Regions from separate parts of the Homo sapiens genome. Here region 2 is linked to region 1. The links are contacts of gene promoters, found by promoter capture Hi-C in blood cells and fetal thymus (Javierre and others, 2016). All regions are on one chromosome and are shown on one strand. Each heading gives the region's core, a stretch centred on a gene start or on the middle of the fragment in contact. The rest is flanking DNA. Distances are from core to core; before and after follow the strand shown.

Region 1 (7,036 bases), core at 1,398-3,897:
ACAAAATCCTCTAGCATTCCTGTTGTTAAGCAACACATGAGTGTAGTTACTGAGTCCCTATTGTGAGCCAGGGCCGGGTAATATATTCTCTCCCCCAGGCTGTTGTGACCATTTCCAGTGAGTCAGTTCATCTGTCTGAACAAAGCACTCTGGCATTGATTGTATGCAAATAACCTGTTACAGAATGGTTCTACCCATAAACTGGCTGGCCTCTTTTGAGCAACCCTCAAAGTTGCAAGCCCTTGCCCTCTGTCCTGGTCAACCTCTCTTCCTCAGAAGCTTGCCTGCTCTGAACTCCTCTCCCAAACCGGGTTAGGAGCCCCTTCTCTGGTATCAGGGCACCCTGTGCCTCTCTTACAGACTTGCATTATGGTTCTAACTGTGCTGTGTGGCCTGGGCAAGCCGCTCAACCACTCGGTTATTTCTTCTTTTTTTTTTTTTGAGACAGAGTTTCACTGTTATTGCCCAGGCTGGAGTGCAATCTTGGCTCACCACAACCTCTGCCTCCTGGGTTCAAGCGATTCTCCTGCCTCAGCCTCCCAAGTAGCTGGGATTACAGGCATGCGCCACCACGCCCAGCTAATTTTTTGTATTTTTAGTAGAGCTAGGGTTTTTTCATGTTGGTCAGGCTGGTCTCGAACTCCTGACCTCAGGTGATCTGCCCACCTTGGCCTCCCAAGGTGCTGGGATTACAGGTGTGAGCCACTGCACCCGACTTGAAAGAAATTGCTTTGCACTGTGCTTGGCACAGAGGAACAGCAGGTGTTCATTCAATGCTTGCTGTTGTAATTATTCAGGCTTTTATCAACAGAGGGCTGGCCTGAGACTCTGCCATATCTCAGAACCTAGCACAGAACCTGGATGAGTACAGAGTAAGTGCTCAATGTATGCTGTGGTAGGCAGAGTAATAGCCCCCAAAGACGTTCACATCCTAACTCTCAGGACCTGTGAACATTCCCTTAAATGGCAAAGGGGAATTAAGGTTGCAAACAGGATTAGGGTTCTTAATCGGCTGATTTTAAAATAGGGAGATCATGTTGGACTAACCAGCTGGCCCAATGTCATCTTAAGAGTCCTTAAAAGGGCCAGGTGTGGGGAGGTTGAAGCTGCAGGGAGCCGAGATTGAGTCATAGCACTCCAGTTTGGGAGACGGAGTGAGACAAAAAAAAGGCTGGGCAAGGTGGCTCATGCCTGTAATCCCATCACTTTGGGAGGCAGAGGCTGGTGGATCGCTTGAGGTCAGGAGTTCAAGACCAGCCTGGCCAACATGGTGAAAGCCCGTCTCTATTAAAAATACAAAAATTAGCGGAGCGTGGTGGCGGGTGCCTGTAATCCCAGCCACTCAGGAGGTTGAGGCAAGAGAATTGCTTGAACCCAGGAGGAGGAGGTTGCAGTGAGCCGAGATTGCACCACTGGACTCTAGCCTGGGCAACGGAGTAAGACTCCATCGCAGGAAAAAAAAAAAAAAGGAAGATGTGCCTATGGAGAGAGGACTGTCTGAGGTCTGAGAGACTCCACCTGACATTGCAGGCTTGCTTTTCTGTTTTTTTTTTTTTTTTTTTTTTTTTTGAGACGGAGTTTTGCTCTGTCGCCCAGGCTGGAGTGCAATGGCACCATCTCAGCTCACTGTAACCTCTGCCTCCCAGGTTCAAGCGATTCTCCTATCTCAGCCTTCCCAGTAGCTGGGATTACAGGTACGCGCCACCACACCTGGCTAATTTTTGTATTTTAAGTAGAGATGGGGTTTTACCATGTTGGCCAGGCTGGTCTCGAACTCCTGACCTCAGGTGATCCACCCACCTTGGCCTCCCAAAGTGCTGGGATTACAGGTGTGAGCCATTGTGCCCAGCCCATTGCAGGCTTTCACAGAGAAAAGGGGCAGGAGTCAGGCGCGCAGGCAGCTTCTGGAAGTTAGAAAACACAAGGAAACAGATTCTTCCCTACAGCCTCCAGAAGGGAATGCATCCTGCCAACACTTTGTTTTTAGCTCAGCAAGACCTGTGTGGGCCATCGAACCTACAGAACTGAAGGATAATACATTTGTGGGTGTGTGTTTTCAAAGACACTAAGTTTTGGTAACTTGTTACAGCAGTAACTGGAAACTAAGACATGCAACAAGCCTTATTGTTCATTTTTACCACCACTACTGGGCTGTTGGTTATGGTGGAATTACACTTTTCTCTTCCATTAGGCTGTGTGAACTCCTTGAGGTTGTGCAATACGTTTGTCTGATTTACTACTGGTTAGCAGGCTCTGAGAAGAATGGCTGGTACACAGGCGGAGCTCAATAAAAGCCCTTACTGAATTTTATTCAATCTATATGTGGATGAAGACCTCCGCCCCGCGCGCCCCTCCCGCAAGTCCCACTGAGGCCCGACCCATTCTGTCCGGCTCCCAGCCCCCGCGGGTCCCCCCACCCCGGGGCTGACCGGGTGATTCAGGCAGCCCTACATCCTGCTGGGGTGGTGGGCTTCGAGCGCGGGTCCCAGGACGCAGTGGGGCGCAGTGCCTGCGGCAGGCGGCAGGAGGCGAGCGTGGCCCAGGAACTCCCGCGGGAGGGTCGGGACGGGGCGGGGCTTGGGGGCGGGGCGGCTCAGCGCGCAGGCGCGGGGCCAGGCGCCTCGCGCGGCCAGGGGCGGGCGGCCGCAGAGCAGCACCGGCCGTGGCTCCGGTAGCAGCAAGTTCGAACCCCGCTCCCGCTCCGCTTCGGTTCTCGCTCCTTCGGCCCTTGGGCCTCCAAACACCAGTCCCCGGCAGCTCGTTGCGCATTGCGCTCTCCCCGCCACCAGGATGCCGGTAACCGAGAAGGATCTAGCTGAGGACGCGCCTTGGAAGAAGATCCAGCAGAACACGTTCACACGCTGGTGCAACGAGCACCTCAAGTGCGTGAACAAACGCATCGGCAACCTGCAGACCGACCTGAGCGACGGGCTGCGGCTCATCGCGCTGCTCGAGGTGCTCAGCCAGAAGCGCATGTACCGCAAGTACCATCAGCGGCCCACCTTTCGCCAGATGCAGCTCGAGAATGTGTCCGTGGCGCTCGAGTTCCTGGACCGTGAGAGCATCAAGCTCGTGTCCATCGGTGAGTTCTCTGGCCGGGCCCAGGCGCCCACTGTGGTGCCGACCCGCCCCCGCGCGTGCACCCCTGCGGAGGGCGAGGATTTCCCGCAGCGCGCCCCCACCTCGGAGATAAGGGGGAGTCGTCCCCAGGGGTGGGTTATAGGGGGCCTAGACCCCCTCCCCGGTGTCTTCCCCTGGGATGGGACCTGTTGTGATCGCTCCCCGCCATCCGCCCCAGCAGTGCACCTTTGGCTGGCTAAGGGTTGAGGGTTTGGGCTGGGGTCACAGGAGGAGAGGTGGAGTTGTTGCATTTCTCTACACCTGGGGCGCCCCTATGGGAGCTAGGGGACTAGAAACCCTCGTTCGCTGTCCCCGGGGGCGGGCCCTAGGGTCAGATGCTCCGCGGAGTGCTCTCCCTGCTGCGCCCAGGTTGGTGCTCTCAGAGGCAGCTGAATGGGCGTTGGCTCGGAGGCCGGGCCGTGAGACCTGAGGAGGAACCGTTCTCTGCGCCTGGGGCCTCCCTGCCCAGGTGGAGACAGAGACCTGGTACCTTCCCCTGCCGTCGCTGGAATGGGTGTGGGCCCCGAGGTTGCAAGGGTAGGCGCGGGTGTGTGTCCTCGCTCTCTCTGCTCCCAGCTCAGCTCTGGCCGCGCGCCGCAGGTTGAACCCACTCCTTGCTGCCGAAGTTATAATTTAGAGATGGTGGTGGTAACAGTAATTGCTGTCTTGTAGGGAGCCCAACTAGCGTCCACTGTGTACCGTCAGCCTTCTAAGTTATCTCCGTCCCTACGCATCCTGCCATCTGGGGTGAGGCTAGACCCATTTTACAGATAAGGGGGTCCGGAGGGTTAATTGACCTGTCCAAGGTCAGCAAGTAGGGCCCAGCTGAGAACTGAAGGAAGTGGGCAACAGTTAGAAGGAGGCTTTGTTTTCCTCTCCTCTCCCAAACCTACACCAGGGTCTTCCTGAAAGGAGGGAGGGAATTGGTGTCTCTTGCTGGACTGGGCCTTCTGGTCTGGGGAGGAAGAATAAGGATGAAGTCTCCCTTGTGGTCTGAGATAGTTGGAGGCTTCCCAGAGGGCCACAAGGCTACTGATAGTGTGGGCTGTGATGGTAGGGGCTGTGATGTGTGTGTGCATGTGGGCGTTTGTGCAGAGAACGTGTGTACACACATAGCATGTGTGTATAGCATGTGCATATGCAAAGAGTTTGCATGTACACGGAATGTATGCAGAGAATGTGTATCCACCTACACGTGTGTATGGGTGTGTGTATGTGTGTGTGTGTATGTGGGTGGGTGGGTGTGGGTTGGGGCAGAGGAGGGTTCTGGGTCTGGATCTCTTCCTAAGGAGAACCAGGGACTGGCCCTGGCCTGTGATTTGGGTCTCTTCCTGAGGAAACCAGGTCACTATAGTGACCCTAGTGACAGGAAGAAAGGGAGATGGGTGTGGCTGCCAGGACTTTCTCCAGTGGAAAAGGGATTCCCTCTAGGCTGAGCCTCCCCTGGGCCTTAGGGCCTCACCCTTCCCTTCCCCCACACCTGTCCTGGCAGGTAAGGCTGCTTCCTGCTTCCTGGGCCCAGATGGCAGCCGCACCACCCAGCTGATCTCCAGCAGCCCTCCCCCTCCCCAAGGGTGGCTTCCCTGCAGAAGAATCTGCATGGCACGCTGTTGTCTTCTTTCTGGGGTCCATCTCCTGTACTGGGGAGGGAGAACCTCAGAATCTCCTGGAATTCTTTACCATTCAGAAACCAGCCTCCCCTCTGAAGAATCCCAAGGCCCAGCTGGGCTCAATTTGGATCTGTTCTTTGTTTTAAAAATGTGTATTTATTTAATTAACTGAATAAAGAAACTTAAAGTAAACCAGAAGTATCCAAATACGACATGAAATCTCTAAAACAACAACAAAACCAAACCAAACCGCAGCACTAGCAAATCACAGACTGCCTGATCTACCCACTGTTTACAGAGGCAGCAGCTACTTCCAGCACTGTCTCTCATCAGTGCCCGGGGCTGTGGGTCTCATTCTAGATTTTGTCTACATTTTTTTACATGGTTCTCCTGATTCCCTGCTCCCCCTCCCCACCACCGCCCCGCCTGGAGATGGAGCCTTGCTCTGTCTCCAGGCTGGAGTACAATGGTGCCATCTCTGCTCACTGCAACCTCCACCTCCCGGGTTCAAGCGATTCTTCTGCCTCAGCCTCCTGAGTAGCTAGAATTACAGGCACATGCCACCACGCCCGGCTAATTTTTGTATTCTTAGTAGAGATGGGGTTTCACCATGTTGGCCAGGCTGGTCTCGAACTCTTGACCTCATGATATGCCCGCCTCGGCCTCCCAAGTGCGGGGGTTACAGCCCTGAGCCACCGCGCCCAGCCCGGTCCTCCTTTTATTTTCGAATCCACTCAGGCCCTAGCTACTCCCATTGTCCCGACGTTCCAGGGTTAGTTAGCTTCCCTTCCTCTGTGCTGGGCCTGTGGGCTGTTGGCAGCTTCTTCCTGTTCCTACCACAACTTGCATTCTATTTTTTTCCTTTTTAATGATTTCTTGGATCATATTCCCCAGAGTGACATTCCTGGGTTAAAGGGTGTGACCACATTTATGACTTGTATCATTGGCTGCCTAATTGCTCTCCCGAGAGATCTTGCAACAAACAGGTTTTCCAGCCTCTGGAGACCACAGAGAGCCCTGGCAAGTGCCAGGACTGCTGTGGGGATAAAGCAGGAGGCTTCTTCCCTAAGCTCTTGAGGCTGTTGTGGGTAATGGTCCTTCATCCTTCAAGGCAAAGTTACCTCCAGCTTGGACTAAGGTTCATATATTCACTGCTTAGGTTGTGTTACATTGTGCTGACAATGACACTAGCTTCAATTTGGGGGCACCTACTGGGTGTTAAGTGTGTTCTGTTGATCACCCCATTGAATTTTCATGCTAATCATTGATTGACAGCAACTACTGCCCTATCTCTAATGATCTGCTTCTGCAAGTCACTTAGAGAGTTCAGGGCTTAACACTGTCCTGGGCATGTGTTGCTTAGAAAATGGCGCCTGTTAATTAAATAAGGTGCTGTCTAATAATTATCTCAAAAGTAATGCCAGGGCTGGATGCCGTGGCTCACGCCTGTAATCCCAGCACTTTAGGAGGCCAAGGTGGGTGGATCACCTGAGGTCAGGAGTTCGAGACCAGCCTGGACAACATGGTGAAACCCTAGCTCTACTAAAAATACAAAAATTAGCTGGGCATGGTGGTGCACACCTGTAGTCCCAGCTACTCGGGAGGCTGAGGCAGGAGAATTGCTTGAACCCGGGAGGTGGAGGTTGCAGTGAGCCGAGGTCTTTGTGTAACTGCACTCCAGCCTGGGAGAGCGAGACTCTGACTCAAAAAAAAAAAAAAAAAAAAAAGTCATGCCCGAATGGTTTGCACACCGAAGGGACGTTCAAAATTAGGGGAGAACAGCCTGGTTGTTTGTTTCTGTTTGGTTGATCATACTCTTGCCATGGTTAGTATTATTATCTTTATTTAAAGATGGGAAACAGGAGTGAAGCCACTTGTGGAGGTGACCCAGCTAGCTAGTAAATGGTGTCTGAAACCCAGGTCTGCCCAGCTGTTGAATTGGAGCCTTAACTGACTTGCCTTCCAGTTTCAGAGATGAGTAAAATACAGCTTTTCTCTCCACATCAGAGGGTCCCTGCAACACTAGGTTTGCAAGTCTTAGGTGTTAGGGTGGTGGCTGGATACCCACACTCTGAACCTCTGACCTTGGACAAAATAGGGATGTCAGGGCCTTCCATGATTGGCAGGATGAATCCTCTGGGCTGTGATGAAGGTCTCACAAGTTGAGAGTCAGCCGGGAATTAAGTGGGATCAGTTTGCCTCTTGTGTTTTCCTCATTGTGTTTTGGTTGGTTGGTTGAGATTTCCTACTACCCAATGGATGATGTTTTATTCCATCGTCAGGGAAGGTATCATTGAATGAATACA
Region 2 (7,036 bases), core at 3,057-5,556, 190 kb after region 1:
TTGGATACAGGCTAAATGGTGCTGTGTTGTTGGACTCCAATGAGCCTCCTTGATTGCAGAAAGATAACAAAATCCTCGAGTCCCAGCCAGCCCACTAGGTGTTTGTCACACTGGGGCCCCAAAGACCTCCAACACTGACCTTGGTGACAAATATAATGTGGTGGATGTTGCAATAGAGGTAGGGCGCACATGAGGGCTGGGGGCACTTGGCCCGGGCTCTGGAATAGGGCAGGGCATGGGGGGGGCAGAGCCAAGGCCCCCAGGGAGGGAGAGCATGGGGTATGCAGGGCGGAGGACATCCTCCTGGAGCAGGGGTTCAGGGTGGGACCCTGGCAGAAGGTGGGGCTGGCGCAATAAGCCAGATAGCAGAGACCTTCATGGTGGCCAAGACTGAGCTCTCTCCCATGGTGATGGGAGCCGCTGAAGGATTTATGGGCAGAGGGTGGGACTGAGGGTGGGACTGAGGGTGGGCTGTGGTCAGATTAGTATTTCAGAGGATGACACTGATGCTTCCTGGGCTGGCTGAGTTGGAGGACAATTCGAAGGCAGAGAAACCAGGTGGGAGTGGCCTTTATCCCTCAACACTGTGAGACGTGATGGTGGCCTGACCTCAGAGAGGAGGGGGCAGACTCTTAAAACAGTTAATTGCCCAAATCACAGGGGCAGCTGGGGCCTTGGTGTTTCTGGTCATTGCGTGTGGAACAGGACCCCTCATGAGGACTGAAAGCTGACGCTCTTCCTCCCCCTGCAGCCTCTCGCATGACAGGGTTGAGCAGGGCCAGTGACAGTGGATGGGGCTCTGGCTCAGGGCATGAAGATCATCATTTTGGTCTACAAATGCCCCTGGTTCCCTTTTAGACAATTCAGGGGAGGTATGAGACCAAGAGAGATACAAAAGATTCTCCTTCCAATTTGGCTCAAGTCAGAATAAATTCAGGTCAAAAAATGAAAGCAGTTGGATCACTCTTGTTTCCTAAGTACAGGGAGCAGTTCATATCTGTTAGAGACATTTTATTTAGAGGCAAGAAATGGTTAATAAGATGAGACCCTTGGGTCTAGGAGCGTTTGCTCTTTGTTTTCTTCCTTAGAGTGACAGATTTTTTGCTGTTGGTGAAGGCCCTTGAAGACTGTAGTTTAAATTCAACTGGAAAGTGGTCGCTGACATCCAGGGCCTATAAGGAGAAAGGGGAGGTAGACATGGAAATTAGGAGATGCCTGGGAGATGCTTTCATTTTAGCGATGAGCAAATTTAGGACCAGGGAGGGGAGAGGAAATGCCCGAAGTCACCCCACAGAACACTTACTGGTAAGCGTCATTCCAAGACCAGCTCGATCAGAAATTTTGGAGGGGCCTCAAATCACAGAATCATAGGCATTGAGGGTCAAGGTCTAGTGCCCAATGTTGTGTCTTCAGTGGTGACCTCAAAGGGTGGCATCAACCCATCTTTTTTTTTTTTTTTTTTTGAGACAGGATCTCACTCTGTTGCCCAGCCTGGAGTGCAGTGGTGCGATCTTGGCTCACTGCAACCTCCGCTTCCTGGACTCAAGTGATCCTCCCACCTCAGCCTCCCAAGTAGCTGGGACCATAGGCATGCATCACCATGCCCAGCTAATTTTTTTGAATTTTTCATAGAGATGGAGTCTCATCATGTTGCCCAAGCTAACTCATCTTTCCAGGACAATGGCATAGAAAGACAAGATGGCAACCTTACCTCCTCTTCAGTCAGCTTGTAAGCTTTCTGGAAGTCAAAAACACTGTTTGACTTGGGAACAACAGAACTGACGATTTCTTGTCCTCTAAGCACAATCCTGGAACAAGGGGAGGGAAAACAGTTGTGTTAATCCAACCTGTGATTGCTGAGATCAAACCAAGGTCTGTGTTTGCTGTCTGGAATTAACCGAGCAGTCTGGCCCTTTCATGTGGCGCTCAAAGTCCAGAGCTGGTTTTAGCCTGTGACCCCAAAGGACAGTGCCTACAACTGTGAAATAGGATCAGTCCCTGCCATGGTTCTGTGGACACCAGGACACTGTCTCCCAGTGTGGGCAATGTTCTGGTGGAGTAGGAGAAGATTTTATATGACACACGCACACTATCCCACACAACAATGACTTGCGTACTGAGAACGCTGTTCCTTTTTCAATTATTTTTCACTTTCCCTGATTTGATTATGGAGAAATTCTCAGGGAGGTGCTGGTTTGTCTTTAATACCTCCCTCAGTCCCGTGTTGACAGAGAGTAGGCTGCCATCTCCGAGCATTCTGCAGGCAAGAGAATTAAGGCAGAATTTAACAAGGCGTGATTTTCACTGGACTTAATTTTTACGTTACCTTCAATTTATGGCAAATGCTGCTGCTTTCTTACTCATGCTAGTATCATGAAATTTCTTTTAAAAATTTATTTCAGCAAGAAATTAAGCGATTTAATGGAAAATATCGAGAAAAATCACAGCATATGTGCTTTGCAATAATGACAAAAAGTAAGAATGAGGTAGTCAAATGAGTTTTGGAAACAAACTAACATATCCCAAGTTGGGTGATGCAGTTGTGGTCTACGTGGTCCTGAGTGACTTCCCGAGGAATGGCAAGGTGAGTCAAACTGCCATTTCATGAGTGACCAGTGGGCCTTCCCCATTCTAATCAACAGTTTTGGTATCTGCATTTGCTAACATCACCAGCACAACTAACTTTTTTTTTTTTTTTTTTTTTTTTGAGACACAGTCATGCTCTGTCACCCAGGTTGGAGTGCAGTGCGCCATCTCAGCTCACTGCAACCTCCACCTTCCGGGTTGAAGCGATTCTCCTGCCTCAGCCTCCCAAGTAGCTGGAATTATAGGTGTGTGCCACCACGCCTGGCTAATTTTTGTATTTTTAGTAGAGACGGGGTTTATCCCTGTTGGCCAGGCTGGTCTTGAACTCGTGACCTTAGGTGATCCGCCCACCTCAACCTCCCAAAGTGCTGGGATTACCGGTGTAAGCCACCGCTCCAGGGCTACGGCTTTTTTTTTTCTTTTTTTGAGACGGAGTCTCTCTGTGTCACCCAGGCTAGAGTGCAGTGGCGCAATCTCGGCTCACTGCAAGCTCTGCCTCCTGGGTTCATGCCATTCTCCTGCCTCAGCCTCCCGAGTAGCTGGGACTACAGGTGCCCGGCACCACGCCTGGCTAATTTTTTTTGTATTTTTTAGTAGAGACGGGGTTTCACTGTGTTAGCCAGGATGGTCTCGATCTCCTGACCTCGTGATCCACCGGCCGCAGCCTCCCAAAGTGCTGGGATTACAGGTGTGAGCCACCACGCCCGGCCCGGGCTACGGCTTTTAATTCAACCCAAATGTAAATTCTTCGCATCAAGTTAGACATTTGTGAAAGCTTTCTTTAAGACTCAGAAAGCAAAGAATGACATGTTAAAGGCTCTTCCATTTCTGACTTCTTCTAGGGATGTGCAGGACCAGGCCAGTGTTCATGTGACGTTTTCAGTCCAGGGCACCAGCCAGATCCTGGGCATCTTTGCATGTTCCCCCAGCACTCAGCACATGAGAGGTGTTTGATAAATATGTGAACATGGAACAAAGACTGGAACTGAGACCATCTTGTCTAATTACATTTTTAAAACATCATTTTTATGGCTTTTCATTTTCTCCGTTTATTTTATTTAATTTTACTTTTTATTTTATTGTATTGAGACAGGTCTCACTATGTTGTCCAGGCTGGAGTGCCGTGGCTATTCACAGGCATGTGATCATGTTGCTCTAAAGCCTTGAACTCCTGGGCTCAAGTGATCCTCCTGCCTCAGCCTCCCAAGTAGCTGGGATTACAGCATATGCCACCACAACTGGCCTATGACTTTTTAAAAGCCACAAGAGGCCGGGCATGGTGGCTCACACCTGTAATCCAAGCACTTTGGGAGGCCAAAGCAGGCGGATCACCTGAGGTCACGAGTTCAAGACCAGCCTGGCCAACATGGCGAAACCCCATCTCTACTAAAATTACAAAAAAAAAAAAAAAAAAAAAAAAAAGCGGGGCATGTTTGTGTATGCCTGTAATCCCAGCTACTTGGGAGGCTGAGGCAGGAAAATCGCTTGAACCCGGGAGGCGGAGGTTGCAGTGAGCCAAGATCCTGCCACTGCACTCCAGCCTGGGCGACAGAGCAGGACTCTGTCTCAAAAAAAAGAAAAAAAAGAGGCACAAGAGTTATACATGTTGTTATGAGAAACAAAATTCAGAGCATCAAAATAAGAAATGAATCTTTAAAATGTCACATGTAATCCCACCATCCTTTGGGATACATGTGTATAAAATCAGGATCCTTTTAGTAAACATCTTTTTCTAACCTGTTCTACCCCTGACCTGATCTACTGTGGCCATGTTGCCTTCTGATTCTTCTGTATCATTTTCAATCACTTCCCACTCATTTGCCAGGGGAGAAGAATGGCGCTGGAGAAGGGACTTGACCTACCCACGGGCACACAACTGCCATGTGTAACTGAGTGAGTGGCCATCGTCCAGGCTTTGCTGGAAGTCCTTCAAAATAGGGGGTCTGGGCACTTAGACCCCTGTAACTCCCCGCCTTGGGTTCCCACTTTGCAGAGTGATAACTTCTGCAAAGGAAACACCAGCCTCAAAAGCTCCAAGAGGAACAGGCCGGGCATGGTGGCTCACGCCTGTAATCCCAGCACTTTGGGAGGCCGAGGCGGGCGGATCACGAGGTCAAGAAATCAAGACCATCCTGGGTAACATGGTGAAACCCTGTCTCTACTAAAAATACAAAAAAAAAAAAAAATTAGCCAGGCGTGGTGGCGGGCGCCTGTAGTCCCAGCTACTCGGGAGGCTGAGGCAGGAGAATGGCGTGAACCCGGGAGGCGGAGCTTGCAGTGAGCCGAGATCGCACCACTGCACTCCAGCCTGGGCAACAGAGCGAGACTCTGTCTAAAAAAAAAAAAAAAAAAAAAAAAAACTCCGAGAGGAAGTGAAAACGAGTGGCCTGGTGGCTCTCATGCAGATGGCCATCTCACACTTCCTCGTGGCAGGCTGAGCTCTGGGAACTGTGGCCACCACCTGGGACCAGGCTCCTAGGGGTTTCCCCACCTGTGGTCTCTGTGATGGAAGATCACTAACATTCACACGCCTCAGGCACTCCCCCCTCTGTCCCCATTGAAGGAGCAAAGATGAAAGCTGTTTGAAAATCCCTGAAGGGACTTTAAAAAGCACGAGGGAATGCTAGGACTTAAATGTATGCATTGCATTTAGGAATATGTAGCTAAAGCTTTAAAAATATAAATACCGTTGCACTAATTGGTCTCATTTTTAGGGTTGCTTCCTGAGGAAATCATAAATACTTGCACAAAATGCACAGAGGATATTGATTTTAGCAGTATTTATAACAGCAAACCCTTGGTAATAACCCAATGCCTAATGATGGGGATTGGGCGCATCAATTGCGGTAAGTCTTTGTGATGGAACAATGATCAGCCCATGAATGTAATGAGCACTTGCCGTATGCCAGGCATTGTGCTAGCAGCCTGACATGTTATTTCATTTACTCCACATCGGATCTTCATGAGTGAGGCACTAGGATAACTTCCATTTTACAGGGGAGGAAATGAAAGACACAGAGAGCTTGTCTCTTGGTCACAGACATATGAAGTGATAATGTCAGGATTTAAATCCAGGCCTATCTGATAGCGAAGCCAGTGCTTACCTCTGCTAAGCTACAGTGCCCAGGGCCACCGCATAGGGTCCTGTGGTTCATACGCTACATGTGGTACCCAGTAGAGGGGCCTGACATTTAATTGACTCAGCTCTGCAAGCAGTGTGCTTTTCTTATTTTTATTTTTATTTTTTATTTTTGAGACAAAGTCTCACTCTGTTACCCAGGCTGGAGTGCAGTGGTGCGATCCTGGCTCACTGCAGCCTCCACCTTCTGGGCTCAAGCGATCCTCCCACCTCAGCCTCCTGAGTAGCTGGGAGTATAGGTGTGTGCCACCATGCCTGGCTAATTTTTGTATTTTTTGTAGAGACGGGGTTTCATCATGTTGCCCAGGCTGGTCTCAAACTCCTGTACTCAAGCGATCCATCCATCGAGGCCTCCCAAAGTGCTAGGACTACTGGCGTGAGCCACAGTGCCCAGCCACCTTGCGTCTTTCCTAGTGCACACCAAGCACTGTGGTGAGCCAGCAGCACCCTGCAGGGCCTCCTACCTGTCATATGCACAGTTGGTGCTCTTCTTCACCGTGGTGTCCTCTTGGTCCCCGATCAGCCAAACAAACCTGGGGTCAGTCCTCAAGCGGATGTTCTTCCAGGCCTTCTTGGGGACGTAGCTGCAGCCGGCATTGAAGTCACCCATGAAAATGAAATTCTAAAAGACAAGATTTGGAACTGTCACCTGGTGGGTGCTGCTGCAGAATGCTTTCACACTGGACTCTAGCAAAGACTCTGCGTCCCAGGCCCAGTAAACAACAGGGTCTGTTATGGGCTGAATCTTGTCTACCCCCTGCTCCCGCCCCGGCCAAATTCCTATGTTGAAGTTCTAACCCCCAGCACCTTAGAATGCGACTGTATTTGGAGATAGAACCTTTCAAGAGGGAATTAAGGTAAAATGAGGTCATATGGATGGGCTCTAATCCAATATGACTGGCGTTCTTGTAAAAAGGGGAAATTAGGACACAGAAAAGTGGAGCAAAGACCATGTAAAGACACTGGAAGAAGATGGCCGTCTACAAACCAAGGAGAGAGGCCCCCAAAAGACACCAGCCCTGCTGGCACACCTTGTTCTGGGACTCCAGCCTCCAGAACGGTGACGAACTCACTTTCTATTGTTTAAACTTCCCAGTCTTCAGTATGGTACTTTGTTATGGCAGCTCTAGCAAATGAATATAAGGTCTTTAAAAATTTCTTTTTGTTGTTTAAAATTGAGTCACAGTTTTGATGAGTCGATGACAGGCGAGTGCGTACCAGGGAGGATGTTCTTAACAGGAAGGAGAATGTTTGCTGTTCTTAGTCGCCACATTTCCATAATTCAGCATGCAGAGTCAGGTGTGGATAAAA

The links. Contacts are between HindIII fragments. The CHiCAGO score rates a contact against its expected background, and 5 or more counts as called.
Region 2: a fragment that was not itself captured here is called in contact with the fragment with the promoter of FLNB in region 1 in 4 of 17 cell types (naive CD4 T cells, fetal thymus, megakaryocytes and 1 more); the score reaches 6.0 in naive CD4 T cells.

The regions. Positions count from the first base shown.
Region 1 is chr3:58,005,775-58,012,810 of GRCh38, forward strand. FLNB (filamin B) reads left to right here and starts at 2,648. Exons shown (of 46, transcript NM_001457.4): 1 at 2,648-3,082. The coding sequence starts at 2,791. The HindIII fragment of the contact is 11,042 bases long and covers 278-7,036 here.
Region 2 is chr3:58,191,632-58,198,667 of GRCh38, forward strand. It overlaps DNASE1L3 (deoxyribonuclease 1L3), which reads right to left. Exons shown (of 8, transcript NM_004944.4): 6 at 6,190-6,347; 7 at 1,712-1,808; 8 at 626-1,172. The coding sequence ends at 1,056. Among named protein-coding and RNA genes, the nearest start is that of DNASE1L3, 16 kb to the right of the region's middle. RefSeq lists an enhancer at 4,939-5,118. The HindIII fragment of the contact is 1,894 bases long and covers 3,360-5,253 here.